Regions from separate parts of the Homo sapiens genome. Here region 2 is linked to region 1. The links are contacts of gene promoters, found by promoter capture Hi-C in blood cells and fetal thymus (Javierre and others, 2016). All regions are on one chromosome and are shown on one strand. Each heading gives the region's core, a stretch centred on a gene start or on the middle of the fragment in contact. The rest is flanking DNA. Distances are from core to core; before and after follow the strand shown.

What was found. The method cuts DNA at HindIII sites, captures the fragments that hold promoters and counts their contacts. A CHiCAGO score of 5 or more calls a contact.
Region 2: a fragment that was not itself captured here is called in contact with the fragment with the promoter of LINC01949 in region 1 in 1 of 17 cell types (M0 macrophages); the score reaches 5.8 in M0 macrophages.

The regions. Positions count from the first base shown.
Region 1 is chr5:87,237,049-87,240,779 of GRCh38, forward strand. It overlaps LINC01949 (long intergenic non-protein coding RNA 1949), which reads right to left and starts at 2,153. Exons shown (of 3, transcript NR_130914.1): 1 at 2,018-2,153; 2 at 1,767-1,933. All of the region lies in intron 2 of LOC101929380 (a long non-coding RNA gene), which reads left to right. The HindIII fragment of the contact is 4,009 bases long and covers 1,911-3,731 here.
Region 2 is chr5:91,208,702-91,212,341 of GRCh38, forward strand. All of the region lies in intron 3 of LOC107986432 (a long non-coding RNA gene), which reads right to left. Among named protein-coding and RNA genes, the nearest start is that of LUCAT1, 100 kb to the right of the region's middle. The HindIII fragment of the contact is 2,160 bases long and covers 418-2,577 here.

The DNA of each region.
Region 1 (3,731 bases), core at 903-3,402:
TAGGTAAACTCTGGTTCACATTCACATTTTCATGATAAATGGTTAAGCATTTTTTCCATATATTTATGGCCATCTGAGTCTCCTCTTCTGTGAACTATGTTTATGTTTTTGTTCTCTTTTGATATTTCTTATCTACCTGAGGAGCTCTTTATAGTCTAGATATGAATTATTTTGTAAGATGTATGCATCACAGATATTTTCTCCCAGTCTGTGTGCTATGGACTGAATGTTTGTGTCCCCAAAAAACTCCTATGTTGAAATCCAATCCTCCCACCCCCATCCTGCCTTCCAAAGTGATAGTATTTGGATCTGAGGCCATTGGAAAGTGATTATATCATGAGGGTGAATCCCTCATAAATAGGATTAGTGCTCTTGTAAAAAGTACTCCAGAGAGCCATCTTGTTTTTCTGCCATGTGAGGACATAGTGAGAAGATGGTGGTCTATAAACTAGAAAGTGGGCTCTCTTTGACTGGGACTGCTCAGCCTCCAGAAACTATGAGAAATAAATGTTGTTTAAGCCACTCAGTCTATGGTATTTTTTTATACAGCCAGAATGGACTAAGACACTGTAACTTATCTCTTAATTGTATTTTGGTGTCTTTTACGGAACACATGTTTTATTTAATGTTATAAAAAAAATGCATTTTGTCGTTTATGCCATTGCATCTAGCTTAAGAAAGCTTTCCTTACTGGAAGTCATAAATTCTCCTATCTTTTTCTAAAAGTCTTAAAGTTTTGCTCTTTGTATTTAAGTTTCTTTCATCTGAAGTATATTCCATGTAAATAGAGTGAGGCAGAGATCTTTCTGACTTTTTCCCATGTGACTAACCAATTATCCCGGCATTATTTGTTATTTTTTTATTTTACTCCTGAATTTTAATGTCACACTTGTCATACACCAAGTTATCAAATATGTGAATCTGTTCTGAGTTTTGTTTTGTTGGTCTATTAATTTTATTTCTGACACAATAATACAGTTGTATAATTACAACATTAGAATATCAATATCTGGTAAAGTAATATCAGTGAAACTGATTTATGAATTGCATGTAAAAATTTTAAGGCCACCATGTCAATGTAATTAGCACTGGCCTACAGATAACCTATTGATTTGACCACTTTGCTCTTGTATGTAGAAACTTTGCTTAACTCTCCTATTCCAGTTCTTCAGCTGTACAATTATTGGATTTTCTATAAAAAAAAATATTCAAATAATCAATATTTGATCTTCCCTAATCCATATAACTGGTTATTTCTTTCTTATTTCATTGGTTAGGAACTCCAGAGCAATGATGATTATTGGTGGAGATAATAAGTATTAATGCTTGTTCCTAATGTTAATGGGAATTTTATAACTCTCATACATTATTTCTAGGATAAATCATATTTGATCATAATGCATTTTTTAAAATGCTTGATTCAATTTGTCAACATCTTATGATACTTGCATGTACTCATAAGGAAGATTAACCTATAATTTTTCTTTCTCTTATTTTTCTAGTTCAGCTAACTAGAATATATTAACTTCATGAGAGAAACTACAGAATTTTCCTCTTTTTCTGTATTTTGTAGCATTTTGTGCTAAAGAGATTTTTCTGTGCTTTGAATGTTTGTTGGTAATCCCTGTGTAAAATTTTCTAGACTTACTGTTATTTATTTTGGGTAGGTTTTTGCTTACTAATTCAATTTTTCCAAAGGCTTTCTCCTCAGACATAGATTTACTCTTGAGTCAATTTTGGTAATTTAAATTTTTAGTGATGCCCACCTGCAAAGGGCCAGGTCTGGCATACAGTTTGAAATTTGCTGCCAGAGTCCCATTTTGCAATCCCGAACTTCTGGTGGAGACTGGGGTGTCCATGGCCCACTACCCAGTGGCGAGTAAACTCTTTGCTCCCAGACTGTTGCAAGAAGCTTAAAGGATGGCCTCCAGATCTGGAACAATTATGTTCTCATATTAATAAAAAGATTAACAATATTTTTAAAAATCTGTCATTGAGAAACTGGCCAAGAACCTACCTTGAAGAATATCTTAATAGGAGATGAGATCACTGTAAGAAATGAACTTCTAAATAAATTTGAATAGGAAATTCAGTATTAAGAACAAACCAACAATTCACTCAAGGAACTCTGTAAATCTCTTGAAGAATATTATAAAATGTGGAATATCTCAAAGAAAACTTTCCTTCCCATGTGCCTCAAATAACAGGTCTCAAACTCCTAGCCTCAATCAGTCCTCCCACCTCAGCCTCCCAAAGTGCTGGGATTACAGGTGTGAGCCACTGTCCCCAGCCATAATTTATTTATATTTTATTTCTTTAGCTTTTTCATCTTCTATCCTGTTTCATATAAAATTCAAACTTTTTTGGATAAATTTTTTAATCAAATGCTTCCGTTTAAGTTAGTTTTAGCATTTATTTTTATAAAATTTTAGCATGTAATTTTAAAATAATTTTTTATATTTTAAGATCATACCTGTCCATGTGACTCCAATTCAGCTGTAAAAGATCTGAGAAATATTTGATCTGTTGTCCAGGAAGAAAAGGAGAGGAGGAACATTCTTCTATCATTTCACTCTTACCTGTATATGAAGAATATACTTACCTCCCCCGAAGGAGGACAATCTGAAGTCCCTTCTAGTTAGTGCATTCAGCTCAAAGCCCAAGACATTCAAGAAATGTGTCATCTTCTCCAATACGTGAATGTTTGAATTCTCCTGAAATAAAATCCCATGAACTGAAGAAATATCCTGTCTTTACCACCACTCCCATATACACCTACATGTGAGGGTGCATGCATGCACATGAACACACACACATCTAATATACAAAATGAATCAAGGACAGAAGTAGCTATAATAGGAATCTGATTAGTAAGGGTAGGAATGGAAGGCAAGCAACAGTAACCAGTGCATATAGATCTTAAACAACAGATCGCCAAACACACTGCAGAATGATAAGAGGGTCTGAAATGTAATACATCAAGTGTTAATGTGCCAGACCTAGAAGTGGCAAATGTCACTTGGACATATTCCACTGGCTAAAACTCAGTTACATAGGCCCAGTAAAATGATAAAAAGCCTATGTAAGTTTTGGTTGTATGCCAAAAAAGAAGAGGACAAAATGGATATTGATGTGCACTAACAGTCTGTGTCATCATGGTGACATGATCCTTCTATCATGAAGTAATCAACCTCTTTAGAGAAAAATCATTATTAGACTTAAAGTTGTTTTCTAATATCAATATTACTGTCAGATCTATTTTGGTCCGGTTCCTGGTGTACAGTTTTTCAACCTATGACAGTAAGTTCTCAACGTTGTTGATAGGGTCTTGGAAACTTCAACTTCAAGTGAGATGCCATGTAACAAAACCAGTTTTACTATAGGCTAATTAATATAAACAAGAATTAGTTCCTATGGCATATTTGTATCACAAAAACATCAACAAATTTCTAAGTGAAGACTTGAAACACTTCTAATGTTGAATATTGATATAAATGTAAGCTATACATACATTTAAGAAAAATCAACAAAAATAAGTAAGCAATTTGTCCAATTTTTGGTGAATCAGTGAGTGACAGCCGTCATCCTGGTGGTAGGTTAAATCAAGAAATAAATGTTTGTAAAGTGAAAATTGTCAGGAGTACCTCCTACCAACACACAGTTCAAAAACAAACAATATTCAATAAGGCAGACTCTCTAAGCACTTTCATACAACATTTCTTATTATTTTG
Region 2 (3,640 bases), core at 248-2,747, 4.0 Mb after region 1:
TAATTTCCTGCAGGGAATTTTCTTTTTTTTTTTTTTTTTTTTCTGTTTTTGAGACGGAGTCTTGATCAGTCACCCAGGCTAGAGTGCAGTGGCGCAATCTCGGCTCACTGCAAGCTCCACCTCCTGGGTTCACGCCATTCTCCTGCCTCAGCCTCCTGAGTAGCTGGGACTACAGGCGCCCGCCACCACGCCCGGCTAATTTTTTTGTATTTTTAGTAGAGACAGGGTTTCACCATGTTAGCCAGGATGGTCTCGATCTCCTGACCTCGCGATCCACCTGCCTCGGCCTCCCAAAGTGCTGGGATTACAGGCGTGAGCCACCGCGCCTGGCGGAATTTTCCTTTGTAGTCACAGTTTGTTTGGCTTAGGCCACCCAGCTTTCAGACCATCTCAGCTTCTGACATGCCTTCCTCACTAAGCTTAATCATCTATAGCTTTGATTTAGAGTAAGAGATAATGAGAGTCTTCCCTTCACTTGAACATTTGGAAGCCATTGTAGGGTTACTAATTGGCCTAATTTTAATATTATTGTGTCTCAGGGAAGAGGGAGGCCTGAGGAGAGGGAGAGAGATAGGGGAACAGCCAGTGAGTGGAGCAGTCAGAACGCATACAACATTTATTGTTTGCTGTCTTCTGTGGATGCAGTTTGTGGCACCCAGAACAATTATGACACTAACATCAAAAATAAAGAATATTATAATAATAATGAAAAAGTTTGAAATATTGCAAGAACTACCAAAATGTAACAGAGACATAAAGTGAACACATGCTATTGAAAAAATGGCACCAATAGACTTGCTCAATGCAGGGTTGACACAAATCTTCAATTTGGAAAAAATGCATTGTCTTCAAAGCGCAATAAACCAAAGTGCAATAAAACAAGATGTGCACGTACCATCTGAAGGACCTACCTGAGGCTGTTTTGTAGATTATTTTTTTGTAAGTAAGATTACACTCTAAAATAATGATTTAACATACATTATAGTAAATGCATCAACCGGTAGCATAATCATTCATTACCATTATCAAGTATTATGTACTATACAAAATCATATGTGCTATACTTTTATATAACTGGCCACACAGGTTTGTTTACACAAGCATCACCACAAATACATGAGTAATGAATGCAGTGTGCTATGACATTATGACGGCTATGATGGCATGGCACTAGGCAAGAGTAATGTTTCAGCTCCATTTTAATCTTATGGAAGTATATGTGTTCCATTGTTGACCAAGATGTCATGATGCAGTGCATGACTATATATTATCTGTAGAAATGAGATTATTTGGAGTCAATTAAGGCTACTATACCATTACGTTTTTTAGAACTGTAGAAATCTAAATTAATATTTCTACAGGACTTTTTCACAGACATTTTCTCATAATAACCCAATTCTTTTAAAGAAAATAAGAAGTGGCTTGTTTTCATCACCACTAATCTATAAAACAAAGAAATAAATAAAAATACGGTTGGTTTATACTTCAGATATATATCTTTGGTGATTTTCATAGAATCAAAAAAAAAATGAGGCCTCAAAAGCCATCATTTTAACATTAATTTTCCCAAATTAAGCTCACTTAATAATTTTTGAAATTGTGTTTATTTTCAGTTGAGTGGAGTATATTCAGTAAATCAATTTGCAATGCATTTGTTGCATCTACATCTCTCTTGCTGGTATTTCTCCTCTCACAGAATGGTTAGCACAGAAGAGACTTCCTCCACGGGACCCTGGCTTAGAAATGGTTGCATTTCAGAGCCAAAGTAGTATAAGCTGCCAAAATGATTCTGAGCAATGGAAAAAGAGTCCTCATGTATCCCTCACAGCTCATTAAAGAGTTTGCCCCACCATTATCCCCAGGCTTTTCCATCTTCAATGTCTTCCCCTTAATTGCACCCATTTCTAATCTTGATGCACATTTTCAAATGTTTCTTCTTCTCGAGAGACTTTTTCCTCCATCCTGCATTTTTTGCAGTCTCTAGCCATTTTGGAAAATTTCTTGAAAGAAGACATTTCCACATCTGTGCCTTCTTCTCATTCACCATAATCTGGCCTCCACTCCCACTCTTCTACTAGACTTTTCCAAAAGGTCTCCAAGGACTTCTATAGGAGCAAGTATAGAAGCCTCTTCTGGGCCAGGCGCAGTGGCTCACATCTGTAATCTCAACACTCTGGGAGGCCGAGGCAGGTGGATCACCTGAGGTCAGGAGTTCGAGGCCAGCCTGGCCAAAATGGTGAAACCCTGTCTCTACTAAAAACACAAAAATTAGCTGGCTATGGTGGCGCACACCTGTAATCCTAGCTACTTAGGAGGCTGAGGCAGGAGAATCACTTGAACCCAGGAGGCAGAGGTTGCGGTGAGCCAAGATCACACCACTGCACTCCAGCCTGGGTGACAGAGTGAGACTCCATGTCAAAAAAAAAAAAAAAAAAAAAAAAACTGCTCCATGGCAGTGTTTCAAGTGCCTGCTGTGACTGTGCTGTTCTGGACGCCAAGCCTTGCTTTGGTGTTGTTTTCCTCCTACTTTTGTCTCTCCTTTCATTTGATTGGCTGCCAAAATGTAAGAGGCCTCTAAGCTTCCTCACTTAGCACTCCTTTTACCCCGGCTAATCTCTCTTGCTTTCATTCAGACCTGTACTGAGACTGCTATACACTGATAGTACTCCACAATTTATCCTCCCTTTTTTTGGTCTGTAAGAGTCTGAGCATTTTATTTTTTCCAAATGAAAGCTCAACATTTCCACTCAGATGTGCCTCAGTCACCTCAGAATCAGCATTTCAAAAACCAAACTTTTCTTTCTTTTTATTGTAGAGACAGGGTCTTGCTCTGTCTTCACCCAGGCTAGAGTGCAGTGGCATGATCATAGCTCATGGCAGCCTTTAAACTCCTGGGCTCAAGCAATCCTTCCGCCCCAGCCTCCAGAGCAGCTGGGACCATAGGTGTACACCACCATGCTCAGCTAGCAACCTTTTCTTTCTTCTGCAAATTTTTCTTCTGCCTATGTCTTGGGCCCTTTTTGGGTGAGTAACATCATCATCTCCCTACTCACACAAAATAAAGAACTGAAGTAAGCTCTGATGTTTGTTCCCACCTAAGCCCCTTCTTTAAATTGCTTAGTCTGTTTGTGAATTCATCCTGTCTTCTCCCTTTCCTCTGACTCTGCCCTTGCTCAGACTATCATCATCAATGTTCTGGACAATACTGGTAGCTCTGAACATGTCCCCTCACTTCCAATCTTTCCTAATACAGCACATCCTGATCCATACACAATGAGACTTTTATCTCTTAGCAATGATAAGATAGAATTCCTTGGAAAACATCACAAAACACTTTTGGTAGAAAAAAACCAAACACTGCTATGTTAAGAGACTACATAAACCCTAATCTGTATTCTGCATGATTTTTCACCGGAGGAATATTTCTGAAGTAAAAATATGTTCCATTACTCCCCTGCTAAAAACTCCAGAATAGCACTTCGCTGTCTTCAGAATCAAGATAGGAAGAAAAAGGGTCTGATTTTCCACTCCTACATTACTCCATCTATGCTAATTTGTGTTGAATTTCCAGACATATCTATGCTCTGTAATAACTCGGGGCTTGGGACCTTCAGTTTTTTCTGCCCAGAATGCCCACTTC